Linked DNA regions of Homo sapiens: region 2 is linked to region 1. Evidence: promoter capture Hi-C in 16 types of primary human blood cells and fetal thymus (Javierre and others, 2016). All regions are on one chromosome and are shown on one strand. Each heading gives the region's core, a stretch centred on a gene start or on the middle of the fragment in contact. The rest is flanking DNA. Distances are from core to core; before and after follow the strand shown. Region 1 holds the start of ZBTB48 (zinc finger and BTB domain containing 48). Region 2 holds the start of PER3 (period circadian regulator 3).

Region 1 (7,538 bases), core at 5,039-7,538:
AGGCTGGAGTGCAGTGGCGCGATCTCGACTCACTGCAAGCTCCGCCTCCCGGGTTCACGCCATTCTCCTGCCTCAGCCTCCCGTGTAGCTGGGACTACAGGCGCGCGCCACCATGCCCGGCTAATTTTTTTGTATTTTTAGTAGAGACGGGGTTTCACCGTGTTAGCCAGGCTGGTCGCAAACTCCTAACCTCGTGATCCACCCACCTCGGCCTCCCAATGTGCTGGGATTACAGGTGTGAGCCACTGCACCCGGCCATAATGTATTAATATAATAAAATAATTATACAACTCACCATAATGTAGAATCAGTGGGAGCCCTGAGCTTGTTTTCCTACAACTAGATGGTCCCATCTGGGGGTGATGGGAGACAGTGACAGATCATCAGACATTAGATTCTCATAAGTAGCGTGCAACCCAGATCCCTCGCATGTGCAGTTCACAGTAGGGTTCAAGCTCCTACAAGAATCTGATGCTGCTGCTGATCTGACAGGAGGGGAGCAGCTGTAAATACAGATGAAGCTTCGCTTACTCACCAGCTGCTCACCTCCTCCTGTGAGGCCCGGTTCCTAACAGGCCACTGACCTAACTTCTGCCCTGACCTACACATGCTTCTCTTCTTCCTTGCAAACTGCCTCCAGTGGAAGTCCCTGAAGGTCCCCAAACACACGGGACTATTTCACTCCTATGCAGGTTTTGTCTCCTTTGCTTGGAATGCATCCCCTCACCCCTTGTCCCCAGGCAGATTCCCACCCCTCCCCCAGAACCTGCCCCAGTGGAGCCTTCGCAGGTGATTTGTCAGTTTCACAGGCTGAGGGGTGCTCTCCTGGTCTCCCCGGCTCCCTGTATCCCCACACCCAGCACAGGGCCAGGCACTGGGGGGGCCTTCAGTGGAGACTGAAATGGCTGAACGGGACCTCCCATAGATTAGCTATGCGGCCAGCAGCGAGACGCTCAGCGTGAAGCGGCAGTATCCCTCTTTCCTGCGCACCATCCCCAATGACAAGTACCAGGTGGAGACCATGGTGCTGCTGCTGCAGAAGTTCGGGTGGACCTGGATCTCTCTGGTTGGCAGCAGTGACGACTATGGGCAGCTAGGGGTGCAGGCACTGGAGAACCAGGCCACTGGTCAGGGGATCTGCATTGCTTTCAAGGACATCATGCCCTTCTCTGCCCAGGTGGGCGATGAGAGGATGCAGTGCCTCATGCGCCACCTGGCCCAGGCCGGGGCCACCGTCGTGGTTGTTTTTTCCAGCCGGCAGTTGGCCAGGGTGTTTTTCGAGTCCGTGGTGCTGACCAACCTGACTGGCAAGGTGTGGGTCGCCTCAGAAGCCTGGGCCCTCTCCAGGCACATCACTGGGGTGCCCGGGATCCAGCGCATTGGGATGGTGCTGGGCGTGGCCATCCAGAAGAGGGCTGTCCCTGGCCTGAAGGCGTTTGAAGAAGCCTATGCCCGGGCAGACAAGAAGGCCCCTAGGCCTTGCCACAAGGGCTCCTGGTGCAGCAGCAATCAGCTCTGCAGAGAATGCCAAGCTTTCATGGCACACACGATGCCCAAGCTCAAAGCCTTCTCCATGAGTTCTGCCTACAACGCATACCGGGCTGTGTATGCGGTGGCCCATGGCCTCCACCAGCTCCTGGGCTGTGCCTCTGGAGCTTGTTCCAGGGGCCGAGTCTACCCCTGGCAGGTAAGAGAGCCCACCCCAGCACCTCCTGTCAGGGAGAACAGCCAATCCTGAGATGAGCAGAGTGGGCACTCTCCGGTCACTCTAAATGCCAAGGGGGATAAATGCCACTAACTTGAGGTTTTTTGTTTTGTTTTGTTTTGTTTTTTGAGACAGTCTGGCTCTGTCACCCAGGCTGCAGTGTAGTGATGCGATCTCGGCTCTCTGCAACTTCCACCTCCTGGGTTCAAGTGATTCTCTTGCCTCGGCCTCCTGAGTAGCTGGGATTACAGGCACCCACCACCATGCCTGGATAATTTTTCTTTTCTTTTTTTTTTTTTTGAGATAGAGTCTCGCTCTGTTGCCCAGGCTGGAATGCAGTGGTGCGATCTTGGCTCACTGTGAGCTCCGCCTCCCAGGTTCACTCCATTCCCCTGCCTCAGCCTCCCAAGTAGGTGGGACTACGGGCGCCCGCCACCACGCCCAGCTAATTTTTTTTGTATTTTGAGTAGAGACGGGGTTTCACCATGTTAGCCAGGATGGTCTCAATCTCCTGACCTTGTCATCCGCCCACCTCGTCCTCCCAAAGTGCTGGGATTACAGGCGTGAGCCACCGCACCCGGCCTAATTTTTGTATTTTTAGTAGAGATGGGGTTTCACCATGTTGGCCAGGCTGGTCTCGAACTCCTGGCATCAAGTGATCCTCCTGCTTCGGCCTCCCAAAGTGCTGGGATTACAGGCATTAGCTCTCTTCTCTTAGACAGATCTTTCTCTCTGATCCTTGCCTTCTCTCACCCACTGTGTCTTGGAAGTGTCAAGTGATAAGATCCAGGGCTAAAACTGTCTGTAAAGGAGTGTTTGTTAGAGGCCTCCTCTCAGGAGGTTGGTGGGGAAGATTGAGGGGCTTCCTAAGAAGGAAGGGACGAGACCTTCCTGATGGGCTGAAACCACCAGGACGGAAACCCAGGAAGGCCCCAGGCCCTTGCTTCTGGGACCATGTGGGTCTGTGCTGTCTGTGGTGGCTTCATGATACGCGTTTCTTTCAGCTTTTGGAGCAGATCCACAAGGTGCATTTCCTTCTACACAAGGACACTGTGGCGTTTAATGACAACAGAGATCCCCTCAGTAGCTATAACATAATTGCCTGGGACTGGAATGGACCCAAGTGGACCTTCACGGTCCTCGGTTCCTCCACATGGTCTCCAGTTCAGCTAAACATAAATGAGACCAAAATCCAGTGGCACGGAAAGGACAACCAGGTAATGGGGATGTGGCTACTCACCATGTAACTGGCTTATGGGCAACCTAGAGCCTGGGGGTGATGCTGACACAGTGTACAGGGAGCAGGAGGGGGGCCCCAGGGGTCCAGCTGCCACCACTCTACCCATCCTGGCCAGGGAAGCAGGGAAGACACTCCGTAGGCGAGTGTGCAGATGCCCTGGGGCGGAAGTTCACACGACCAGGGGCCCTGCCCTGGGAGTGAGCCCTGAGGGCAGATGCACAGAGATTCTGTTTTCTGTTCCACATGTGAGCTGTCCTTTGACTTGGGCCCCTACGTGTGGCCCCTCTGGCTTCTTACAGGTGCCTAAGTCTGTGTGTTCCAGCGACTGTCTTGAAGGGCACCAGCGAGTGGTTACGGGTTTCCATCACTGCTGCTTTGAGTGTGTGCCCTGTGGGGCTGGGACCTTCCTCAACAAGAGTGGTGAGTGGGCAATGGAGCAGGCGAGCTACCCAGCACTCCCGGGGGCTGCACGGTGGAGGGAGGGCCTCCCTTGGGCCCCATGTGCCCTGCCCCAGAACCAAGGCCCAGTCACTGGGCTGCCAGTTAGCTTCAGGTTGGAGGACACCTGCTACCAGACAGAATTCTGATCAAGAGAATCAGCCACTGGGTGCGGTGGCTCATGCCTGTAATCCCAGCACTTTGGGAGGCTGAGGCGGGTGGATCACTTGAGGTCGGGAGTTCGAGACCAGCCTGGCCAACATGGTGAAACCCCATCTCTACCAAAAATATAAAAAATTAGCTGGGTGTGGTGGCGCGTGCCTGTAATCCCAGCTACTCGGGAGGCTGAGGCAGGAGAATCACTTGAACCCAGGAGGCGGAGGTTGCAGTGAGCCAAGATGCATTCCAGCCTGGACCACAAAGCGAGAATTCGTCCCCCCAAAAAAAGAAAGGAGGCCGGGCGCGGTGGCTCACACCTGTAATCCCAGCACTTTGGGAGGCCGAGGTGGGTGGATCACCTGAGGTCAGGAGTTCGAGACCAGCCTGACCAACATGGTGAAACCCCATCTCTACTAAAAATACAAAAAAAGTTAGCCGGGCGTTGTGGCGTGTGCCTGTAATTCCAGCTACTCGGGAGGCTGAGGCAGGAGAATTGCTTGAACCCGGGAGGCGGAGGTTGCAGTGAGCCAAGATTGCACCATTGCACTCCAGCCTGGGCGACAAGAGAAAAACTCTGTCTCAAAAAAAAAGAAAGAAAGAAAGAATTAGCCAACTGAAAGCCTTAGACTGAGGTGTGTCCTCTGTTAGAGAGCTGTCATCACAACTCCTACAAAAGCAGTCGTATCCTGAATTCAACCTCTTTCTCTAAATGAATATAGCTATTGTTCCCTTTGTGCCCTCTTGTCCTACTGTCCCTTCTGTTGCCCATGCCAAAGACAGCTAGCTCCTTGAACAGCTTGGCCTGAATACAGATACTAGCGTGTCTGCAGCAGAGAAAAAAACAGCATTCCCCATCCAGAAATGCAAGGTCAAGAACAGAGAGCAAATTAGGTAGCTAAGGACTCAGGTCCTTAGTTGGTGTCCAGGGGCCACATTCTTTCCTTTCACCATCTCTGTAGGGACAGGAATACTTCCCTTCTGTCCTCAGAGGGTCAGGACTCAGAGAAACCACAGAGCAGCAGCTCAGGAAAGTGGTTCATGGAAATGCTGGCAAGAGAGAGGGGTTACAATGCCCTCCCTTGGGAGCAGGCTGCTCCCATCAGATCGTAACCTCTCTGGTATGTGGGCAGAGCTACCAGGTTAAGGTCCTCCCTAGGGTTTGCAAAACCCTCATGGGATCATGAGCCATACAGAACCGACCTGTGTGTCTCCAGAGTCTGTAATTAACACAGGCATTTTGAGGAAATGCGTGGCCTCAGGCCCCACTCCCGGCTACCCCCATCCCACTATGCCTAGTATAGTCTAGCTGCCCTGGTACAATTCTCCCAGTATCTTGCAGGCCCCTATTTCCTATTCCTACTCTGCTCATCTGGCTCTCAGGAACCTTCTTGGCCTTCCCTTTCAGACCTCTACAGATGCCAGCCTTGTGGGAAAGAAGAGTGGGCACCTGAGGGAAGCCAGACCTGCTTCCCGCGCACTGTGGTGTTTTTGGCTTTGCGTGAGCACACCTCTTGGGTGCTGCTGGCAGCTAACACGCTGCTGCTGCTGCTGCTGCTTGGGACTGCTGGCCTGTTTGCCTGGCACCTAGACACCCCTGTGGTGAGGTCAGCAGGGGGCCGCCTGTGCTTTCTTATGCTGGGCTCCCTGGCAGCAGGTAGTGGCAGCCTCTATGGCTTCTTTGGGGAACCCACAAGGCCTGCGTGCTTGCTACGCCAGGCCCTCTTTGCCCTTGGTTTCACCATCTTCCTGTCCTGCCTGACAGTTCGCTCATTCCAACTAATCATCATCTTCAAGTTTTCCACCAAGGTACCTACATTCTACCACGCCTGGGTCCAAAACCACGGTGCTGGCCTGTTTGTGATGATCAGCTCAGCGGCCCAGCTGCTTATCTGTCTAACTTGGCTGGTGGTGTGGACCCCACTGCCTGCTAGGGAATACCAGCGCTTCCCCCATCTGGTGATGCTTGAGTGCACAGAGACCAACTCCCTGGGCTTCATACTGGCCTTCCTCTACAATGGCCTCCTCTCCATCAGTGCCTTTGCCTGCAGCTACCTGGGTAAGGACTTGCCAGAGAACTACAACGAGGCCAAATGTGTCACCTTCAGCCTGCTCTTCAACTTCGTGTCCTGGATCGCCTTCTTCACCACGGCCAGCGTCTACGACGGCAAGTACCTGCCTGCGGCCAACATGATGGCTGGGCTGAGCAGCCTGAGCAGCGGCTTCGGTGGGTATTTTCTGCCTAAGTGCTACGTGATCCTCTGCCGCCCAGACCTCAACAGCACAGAGCACTTCCAGGCCTCCATTCAGGACTACACGAGGCGCTGCGGCTCCACCTGACCAGTGGGTCAGCAGGCACGGCTGGCAGCCTTCTCTGCCCTGAGGGTCGAAGGTCGAGCAGGCCGGGGGTGTCCGGGAGGTCTTTGGGCATCGCGGTCTGGGGTTGGGACGTGTAAGCGCCTGGGAGAGCCTAGACCAGGCTCCGGGCTGCCAATAAAGAAGTGAAATGCGTATCTGGTCTCCTGTCGTGGGAGAGTGTGAGGTGTAACGGATTCAAGTCTGAACCCAGAGCCTGGAAAAGGCTGACCGCCCAGATTGACGTTGCTAGGCAACTCCGGAGGCGGGCCCAGCGCCAAAAGAACAGGGCGAGGCGTCGTCCCCGCATCCCATTGGCCGTTCTCTGCGGGGCCCCGCCCTCGGGGGCCGGAGCTAGAAGCTCTACGCTTCCGAGGCGCACCTCCTGGCCTGCACGCTTTGACGTCACGTCCGGCGCGGAGACGGTGGAGTCTCCGCACTGTCGGCGGGGTACGCATAGCCGGGCACTAGGTTCGTGGGCTGTGGAGGCGACGGAGCAGGGGGCCAGTGGGGCCAGCTCAGGGAGGACCTGCCTGGGTGAGGAGGGCGCGGGGTGAGGGAGGGAGGGGCTGCGGGCCGCCGTGGCTGCCTTCCGCTCGGCCGCTCGGGACCTGTGGGCGCGGCGTGGGCTTCGCTCACCTGTCCCCGGCTGCCGCCCTCCGCCGTCCGGGATCCTCTCACTGTGCCGGGCCAGTCCGTTCGCTCTCATCCCATGTCTCCTTTCCCCAAACTTGGATTTTTCTCACCAGGCCCTTCTTCACGACCCTGGCCCCCCATCCAGCATCCCCCCTGGCCAATCCAATATGGCCCCCGGCCCCCGGGAGGCTGTCAGTGTGTTCCAGCCCTCCGCGTGCACCCCTCACCCTGACCCAAGCCCTCGTGCTGATAAATATGATTATTTGAGTAGAGGCCAACTTCCCGTTTCTCTCTCTTGACTCCAGGAGCTTTCTCTTGCATACCCTCGCTTAGGCTGGCCGGGGTGTCACTTCTGCCTCCCTGCCCTCCAGACCATGGACGGCTCCTTCGTCCAGCACAGTGTGAGGGTTCTGCAGGAGCTCAACAAGCAGCGGGAGAAGGGCCAGTACTGCGACGCCACTCTGGACGTGGGGGGCCTGGTGTTTAAGGCACACTGGAGTGTCCTTGCCTGCTGCAGTCACTTTTTCCAGAGCCTCTACGGGGATGGCTCAGGGGGCAGTGTCGTCCTCCCTGCTGGCTTCGCTGAGATCTTTGGCCTCTTGTTGGACTTTTTCTACACTGGTCACCTCGCTCTCACCTCAGGGAACCGGGATCAGGTGCTCCTGGCAGCCAGGGAGTTGCGAGTGCCAGAGGCCGTAGAGCTGTGCCAGAGCTTCAAGCCCAAAACTTCAGTGGGACAGGCAGCAGGTGGCCAGAGTGGGCTGGGGCCCCCTGCCTCCCAGAATGTGAACAGCCACGTCAAGGAGCCGGCAGGCTTGGAAGAAGAGGAAGTTTCGAGGACTCTGGGTCTAGTCCCCAGGGATCAGGAGCCCAGAGGCAGTCATAGTCCTCAGAGGCCCCAGCTCCATTCCCCAGCTCAGAGTGAGGGCCCCTCCTCCCTCTGTGGGAAACTGAAGCAGGCCTTGAAGCCTTGTCCCCTTGAGGACAAGAAACCCGAGGACTGCAAAG
Region 2 (7,538 bases), core at 3,509-6,008, 1.2 Mb after region 1:
TTTAGACTGCAGCATTGGATGTTGGCTTGGGATTCACACTGAGAGACTAACCTGCTGTTTCCCCTGCCTTTTTGCATCTCTCCTCCTTCTTAGTGTGGGTTGTCTCTTCATGAAGAACCAGCGGAACTCAAAACTGCTGTTCAAGAAACCTCTTCAAGACTTTTGACTTAGAACCTGCTATATTATCAAGCTTACCTACTGTTATCTCTAAAATTTTTTTTGTGTTAATGTAAAGTTGAATTTCTAGGAAACGTGCCTTTGTTTTTTAATATGCACTCCAAATTAGAAGGCCGGCCCCGTCCACATTTTGCACAGTGCCTTTACAGATTTACGTATGGGCTGATGAAGAGGCCTTCTTAAGTTCCAGAGTGCTATAATCTAGATGTAATGTTGTCACTAATTAATTGCCATTACTCCCAGTTAGTTACCCTTGTCATTTGGCATTATTTTCAGAACCACATTTTAAACCTTTGGGTAATCAGATTTCCAACTTATGCCTTCCAGAAAAAAACACTACTGCCTAACACAAATCTGTGATAACAACAGGCTGTGCCTTATTTTGATAATTTTCTGATTCCCTAGAAGAGAACCCTCTACTTTTTGTAAGCACTACTGACTCTCGCTGTATTTAAGATGCTGGTGAAGAGCTTTTGCTCTTGCATTAGATTTGAAGATGTTTACATTGTTGTTATTGTTATGTATCACTTGCTAAAAATATTGTTTTAATCAGAGATAACCTCTTTAAAAAAATTTTTAAAGAACTATGGCTATGACCAAAGCTTCTATTTTGCCAAAAAGTTAAATACCGATAAAATGGCCTTAAGTGTATTCCTGACAGTTAAATTCAGAAACGTGCCAAATGGAACTCAAGGTGCCCCTTCAGAATTAAAATCATTACCTTGTGTGTGAACCTTCTACATCTTCATAGGCCTTTCTTCCTTTTGAAAGGCTGTAGACAGTGTGGCTCCCCTTCTGATTCAGTATTTTGCATGGGGGTTAGAGAAGGTTTGAGGTAGACTCTGACCGTCTCATAAAAGAGTTCTACCCAGCAGTTGGCAGATTATCAGCTGTGGACTCCAGCATGTTTCTGATAATTATGCAAGCAACAATTCTGTAGCCTCAAGTAAGACCACCTGTGAACTTGATCATTATCTGGCCCAAATATGAAGATAAACTATAACTTTGGAGTTTGTTTCCTATTTGTATTCACATTCTGCTTCCTAAATCAGTTTTCTAAATTATGCCTGCAATTAGGCATTGGTCAGGGGTGAATGGCTCTTTTCACAGAGAGTAGCCAACCAGAGACCTTTGCTTTGATATCATCAACTGCAGAGAATGCTGTTGATGGGAATGCTGGAAGCAGAAACTTTGTCATCGGAAAAACTTTTCTTGTATGCATGAGACTCAACATCAGGATCCACAGCTTAAAGATGGGAATTCAGGTATGAAAGAAAACAGGCAAGGAGGCACTGAGGGAGAAAGACACAGACTTTATCGCTCTGTGGCTCATTGTTACTGGAATATTCTAAAACTCTTGTTCACATGCTATTATGACTTATAAAGCAGCAACAGCTGAGGCGCACCAGGACACAGCTTCCATTTCTTTAACGTCTGTTCCCTTAACATCGCTGAAATGATTTACTGTTGAAGAGATGCCTTGCGGTGTGGCCAGCTGTGAGGAGAAAGCAGCTGGCAGTGTTAGGACATTAGTCCACCTTCAGCGCAGGGTCTCTGGCCGGGTCTGACTCAGAAACCTTGGTACTCGCCCCTTGGCCACAGTGCCCAGACCCATGTAACCCACTGGCTCCTGCATTAACCCAGAAATACCTCGCTTCTATCTGTGCACTTAGCTGGGAACTTACCCACTGTAATCACCTAAATAAAGTGTTTATAAACATGATTGTGGCACCTGTGCTCCTTGTAGAGGAATAGCTGCACCTGGTCCGAGTCCTAAAAATGCCATTCCTTGCTGCTCCCCATACCTGTCCCTTAGAAGCCCCGAAACTGTCTCCCCCTTTTCTCACCAGCCCCTCTCTAGGTACTCTACCCTTTTGGTACCCAGCATTTCCGCATACCCCAGTGAACAGAAGAAAACCGCTCCCCTTGTGAAAAGTGCTTTTTAGTATAGGCGATGAGGAGGAAACTGGCTTTTACACAATTACCAAAATTCAGGATGTGGCTTTGGAGTTCCCTAAATAGATGGTCTTTCTAAAGTGATGTGCAGAGCCGACCCCGTCTGTGGTAGACTAGATGGCTGCTGGCATGGACCCTGGGATAGATGAGTGGATAGGTGAGGGACATCCCCAGACACATGGCTCTGTTCCTGTAGATCCTTTTTTCCTCATGAATGTATTTCCATTCTTATCGTAGAACCCCTAGGAAACAATATAATACGGGTGGAAGAGGACTTTTGCTTATGTTTACAATAGGAAAATCCAAGTCCCTTTCCCGAATTACAGGTCCCACGATGATCTGGTCCTTTCTAGTTTTCTGACTTCATGTCACACGACTCTCCAGCTCTCTCTTCTCCAAGCAAGGTACTCCACCAAAGTATAGCTGTTGACATCGGAGAGACTTGTGCCCATGAGACTTTCAACATCAGGGTGTGGCTTGAAGGCCAGAGTTAGCTATGAATGAAAACAGGCAAGGAAGCCCTGAGGGAGAAATGGACCTGATAAAGTTTGTTTCGGTTTCTCATCAGCAAACTGACTTCTTTCCAAAGGTCTTCTGCAGGTACTTTCAGCTCTGCCGGGTCTACTTCCTCACCCGCGGCAGGCGCCTCTCATCTCAGGTTGAAATCCGCCTTCCCCACTCGCGGCAGGCGCCTCTCATCTCAGGTTGAAATCCGCCTTCCCAGAGGCCTGCCCTGCTGATCTGACTAAGCAGGCTCTGGCCTCCCCACTCCACCTTTCTCCCAGTTACTCTTCCTTCCAGTAGTTTGTTTTCTACACATCGCTTTAGGCTTTATGAACTTGTTTATGGGGTTGTTTGTATGGCTTTCTCAATAAAACGTCAACTCCCTGGGTGGCAGGGACTTTGGGCCACTGTTCTATCCGCTGGGATTCCAAGCGTCCCTACCCAGATCTGCACGCAATAAATGCTTGCTGAACGAATGCAGTTTGACAAAACCCAGCTTCGGAGGAGAGCAAGCCAACCTAGAGTATCGCTTGGAAGATATAAGGTGGTTTATTCAATACCTAACATGAACACTCACCTCACTTTTCCCCTCTTCCTTTACATACAATTTCATCCATCCAACAAATACTGAATATTTTTTCTGTACCAGGCAGCGAAGAGGGGCGGCACTCTGCACTGTACCTTTCATTTCTAACATGTTGAGATACTAAACTGAGCTTTCAGACATTTTTTTTAAAGGGCTCTACAACTTCTTTTCTGAAACAGAGTGTCTTTTACGTTTGTCTTCCTCCAGTTGCCAAATGAATCTAATTTTAGGAAGTGCAGGGAAGTGTTTTAAGTTCCACCGTCAAAATTCTGTTTCTGGGCCGGTGCAGTGGCTCACGCCAGTAATCCCAACATTTTGGGAGACCGAGGCCAGCAGATCACTGGGGCTTAGGAGTTTGAGAACAGCCTGGCTAACACAGACCATCTTTACCAAAAACACAAAAATTAGCCAGGTGTGGTGGCTGCACCTGTAGTTCCAGCTACTCGGGAGGCTGAAGCAGGAAACTGGCTTGAGCCCAGAAGACGGAGGTTGCAGTGAGCCAAAATCGCGCCACTGCACTCCATCCAGCCTGGACAACAGAGCAAAACCCTGTCTCAAAAAATAAAAAATCTGTTTCTAAAAATCGGGTGGGCTTTTTACCAGGGCTGCTTTATGGCCCGGTTCCTCCAAGTCCACCCCACTCACCGAAAGAGTTAGCGGAGGATGGGGGCGGTTGGGGTGGGCTCGGTAGGTCACGGGCGGTGAAAACCGTGGGAACCCAGAAAGACGGCCAAAGCACGATGAGGACCGCTGCCGGCAGCCCGCCCCACCCTGGGCTCCTCCCCACACCCGCTCGGGCAGCCGGGAGCCACCTACAAACTCCAGGACTCGACCCCAGAGCGCTGGCCTGAGCCGCCCCTGCTCGCCCCCAGTCCCCGCCTCTCCCTCCCTCTAATGCCCCCGCCCTCGACACCGTCGCCCCCCCGCCCCTGCCTCTCGCTCCCCACGTCTCTCGGCACCCCCGCTCCCATCCGCCCCCCCGTCCCCGCCTCTCGCCCCCATCCGTCCCCATTTCCAGCCTCCCCCTGACCCCGACTCAAGCCCCCCGACTCCGCCTCTCGCCCCTCTCTGCCCCCGCCTCTCACTCCCCTCTCCTTCCCCGCCCGCCTCTCACGTGGAGGTTGGGCCGGACCCGCCCCGCCCCACAGAGCCCGGGTCCCGCCCCCACGTGGCTGGCAGCTTCCTGGCCCTATCATTTCTGCGCTGGCTTCAGCGGCTCCGCCCCGGCGCCGTGCCAGGGGGCCGGACACTCCAGTCGCGCGGCACAGGCCTGAGGCCGCTGAGGGCCACCCCGTCCCCTGCCCGCCCGCCGGCCTGCTGGGATTGGCCGAGCGCCGGCCTCCGCCCGAGCCCGCGCGTTATGTAACGCGCCCCGGGGGCCCCGCCCCCTCGCCCTGGCTTATATAACCCGGGCGCACCGGCTCGCGCCCCGCCCCAGGGCCAATGGAGGCCTGCGGAGTCGGCCCCGACGACCAATCGCACGGCCCGGGGGCGGGACCGGTCACGCGGCGGCAGGGGGCGCGGCGCCGGCTGCTGACCGGCACGCGGCGAGCCTCGAGACTGCGCGAGGGCGGCCCCGGGGGCGAGCGGCTGTGCGCGGGGCCAAGGGCGGGGGCAGCAGGTGAGTGCGCGGCCGGGCGGGAGTTCTGGGCGGCCGGGCGGGAGTTCTGGGCACTCGCGCGCGGCAGAGGAGCCCCGCGAGCCCTGCCCTCGGTACTGGGGGCCCCCGGAGCGTGGCGCTTCCGAGCCACCCGCCTCCCCGGGCCCCATCCCTCGGCGCGCGGGAAAGTTGGGGCAGGGGTGAGGACCGCGCGGTCGGGGCGCCCCAGCCAGCCGGGCCGCTGGCGTCGGACTGTCTGTTCCATTTGTCCCTTGTCACCCTTGTCTCCTCCCCCTAGGCCGGAGTCCTGAAAGTCGAGCGAGCTCCGGGTTTTGAAAATGTTGGAGGGAAAAGCTCCTCGGAGATGAGCGTGACCCCCTGGCTCGTGGTGGCCGCCTGTTCTCACTAACGCCATGGCGGGGACCGGAGTGAGAAACCGGTGTCTGTCACTGACTGCAAAGTGAGCGAGAAGCAGGCTGCGGGCCGTCCCAGCACGACGTGGAGCCCCGCGGAGACCTCGAGATGCCCCGCGGGGAAGCTCCTGGCCCCGGGAGACGGGGGGCTAAGGACGAGGCCCTGGGCGAAGAATCGGGGGAGCGGTGGAGCCCCGAGTTCCATCTGCAGAGGAAATTGGCGGACAGCAGCCACAGGTGACGCGCTGGCTTCAGGCCGAGGGCCCCATGCGTTCGTTGTCCTTCCCTGGAGCAGGGAAAGGGGGACCTAAATCTTTTTATTCTTTTGTTTTCAAGCCCAGGGGAAAGTGTAAAGGGGAGACTCGGGCAATGTAGGATGAAGTGATCCGTGACACTGAAGAAAATTACCGAAGAGTATCAGGAGGGAAAAGTGGTTACAAAAGTTAGCTGAGTTGGGGCTCAAGTGGATTAAGGGAAAGTAAGTGGAGAATGTTTGTCATTCACCAGTTGCTTTGCCTCGAGTTCCCCACCTAGAGGAAGAGGGGTCACCACCCTGTGGACTGATGCCGGTAGAGCACTTAGAAACTTACCTGGCTTGCAGTTTGTGTTCCCTAAGCCGCAAGATGCTGTTGTCTTCAGAGGATGAAGTTGTAATTTTTTTTTATCTTCCAGTGAACAGCAAGATCGAAACAGAGTTTCTGAAGAACTTATCATGGTTGTCCAAGAAATGAAAAAATACTTCCCCTCGGAGAGACGCAATAAACCAAGCACTCTAGATGCCCTCAACTATGCTCTCCGCTGTGTCCACAGCGTTCAAGGTAAACAAGCCGGAGAGAAATTTCATCCTACGAATGCACCAGGACTCATACAAGCAGCCAGAGGAGTGGTCAGTGGGGTCTCAGTCAGACAAATAATTTGAGCTTTTTCTGGTGCTTTGTGGAAGATGAGCAAATCTACACCGATTCCATTCGTGTCTTAATTGTTCACATGTGAAAGACCAGGAAAACTTTATCTGTATAATAGTGTATAATACCTATGCAATGTTTTGCTCATGTGTTGCAAGAGAGTAGAGTTTAGCATAAGCACATTTTGAAGGCTGACCTTTTAAAGAAATATTGTCTTCTATGGAAGTTATGGGAAAAAAATGCATTCCACGAAATAGTTACCTTTACATGCCGTACACATACTTTCAAAATGCAGTAATGAGGCTGGGCGCGGTGCCTCACGCCTGTAATCCCAGCACTTTGGGAGGCCGAGGCGGGCAGATCACGAGGTCAGGAGATCGAGACCATCCTGGCTAATACGGTGAAACCCCGTCTCTACTAAAAATACAAAAAATTAGCCGGGTGTGGTGGCGGGCGCCTGTAGTCCAGCTATTCGGGAGGCTGAGACAGGAGAACGGCGTGAACCCGGGAGGCGGAGCTTGCAGTGAGCCGAGATCACGCCACTGCACTCCCGCCTGGGTGACAGAGCGAGACTCTGTCTCTAAAAAATAATAATGATAAAAATGCAGTAATGATATATCAGGAATTTACCAAACTAAAAATGAACCATTGTAAACACTTTTTCTCTCTGACATTTCCAGGGATTTCATTAAAGCCATATTCTCTTTAGCACAAACCTCAGTGCTTCATATATGATATGTTCCTGAATGACAGAGTACTGTTTCTGCTCCCCCCGCAAAAAAATTGTGTATGCATCTGAAATTTTTAGTTAGTACCTTAAATGTATCTTGCTTCCTGTGATCCAGAACATGCAGAATTCATAAAATCAAATCTTAAGTTTGCACAACTATCAGTATTTTAGGTAAAAGCAGAAAATGATCTGTTTTTGAGAAAAATGCACTGAGGTGTTCTCATCCGAAAAAAATAATCCAGCTTGATAGTGATGAAATGGTTTCCTAAAGATACTGTTGTCACTGGACTACCTGTTTATCTCCCTGTGTTTCTTAGCAAACAGTGAGTTTTTCCAGATTCTCAGTCAGAATGGAGCACCTCAGGCAGATGTGAGCATGTACAGTCTTGAGGAGCTGGCCACTATCGCTTCAGAACACACTTCCAAAAACACAGTAAGAATTCATGCATTTTGCCATATCAACCTGGGTGACTTTTCCTAAGGGCCTGCTCTAGATGTAGGCTTTTAAGAAGGATAACAACGTTTCAGCAACCACAATTTGAGAGAAGCAAAGGAGGAACTGCTAAAGAGGCATGGTGTAGCTTCTCCGCCCTTGCCAGAGAAAACATCTAAAAGCAGAAGCAGCCCGTTCTGTGTGCTGTGCAGCTCAGTGACTTTGGTTATGAGG

The links. The method cuts DNA at HindIII sites, captures the fragments that hold promoters and counts their contacts. A CHiCAGO score of 5 or more calls a contact.
Region 2: a contact is called between the fragment with the promoter of PER3 here and the fragment with the promoter of ZBTB48 in region 1, in 2 of 17 cell types (M0 macrophages and neutrophils). The highest score is 6.9, in M0 macrophages.

The regions. Positions count from the first base shown.
Region 1 is chr1:6,573,706-6,581,243 of GRCh38, forward strand. It overlaps ZBTB48 (zinc finger and BTB domain containing 48), which reads left to right and starts at 6,289. Exons shown (of 11, transcript NM_005341.4): 1 at 6,289-6,431; 2 at 6,836-7,538. The coding sequence starts at 6,905. It overlaps TAS1R1 (taste 1 receptor member 1), which reads left to right. Exons shown (of 6, transcript NM_138697.4): 3 at 926-1,687; 4 at 2,710-2,922; 5 at 3,245-3,365; 6 at 4,948-6,050. The coding sequence ends at 5,879. LOC107984912 (a long non-coding RNA gene) reads right to left here and starts at 5,728. Exons shown (of 3, transcript XR_002958250.1): 1 at 5,642-5,728. RefSeq lists an enhancer at 5,673-6,372 and a silencer at 6,424-6,553. The HindIII fragment of the contact is 12,295 bases long and covers 1,531-7,538 here.
Region 2 is chr1:7,779,533-7,787,070 of GRCh38, forward strand. PER3 (period circadian regulator 3) reads left to right here and starts at 4,759. Exons shown (of 22, transcript NM_001377275.1): 1 at 4,759-4,844; 2 at 5,122-5,473; 3 at 5,909-6,054; 4 at 7,189-7,304. The coding sequence starts at 5,346. It overlaps VAMP3 (vesicle associated membrane protein 3), which reads left to right. Exons shown (of 5, transcript NM_004781.4): 5 at 94-1,900. The coding sequence ends at 113. RefSeq lists a silencer at 4,225-4,834. The HindIII fragment of the contact is 8,097 bases long and covers 778-7,538 here.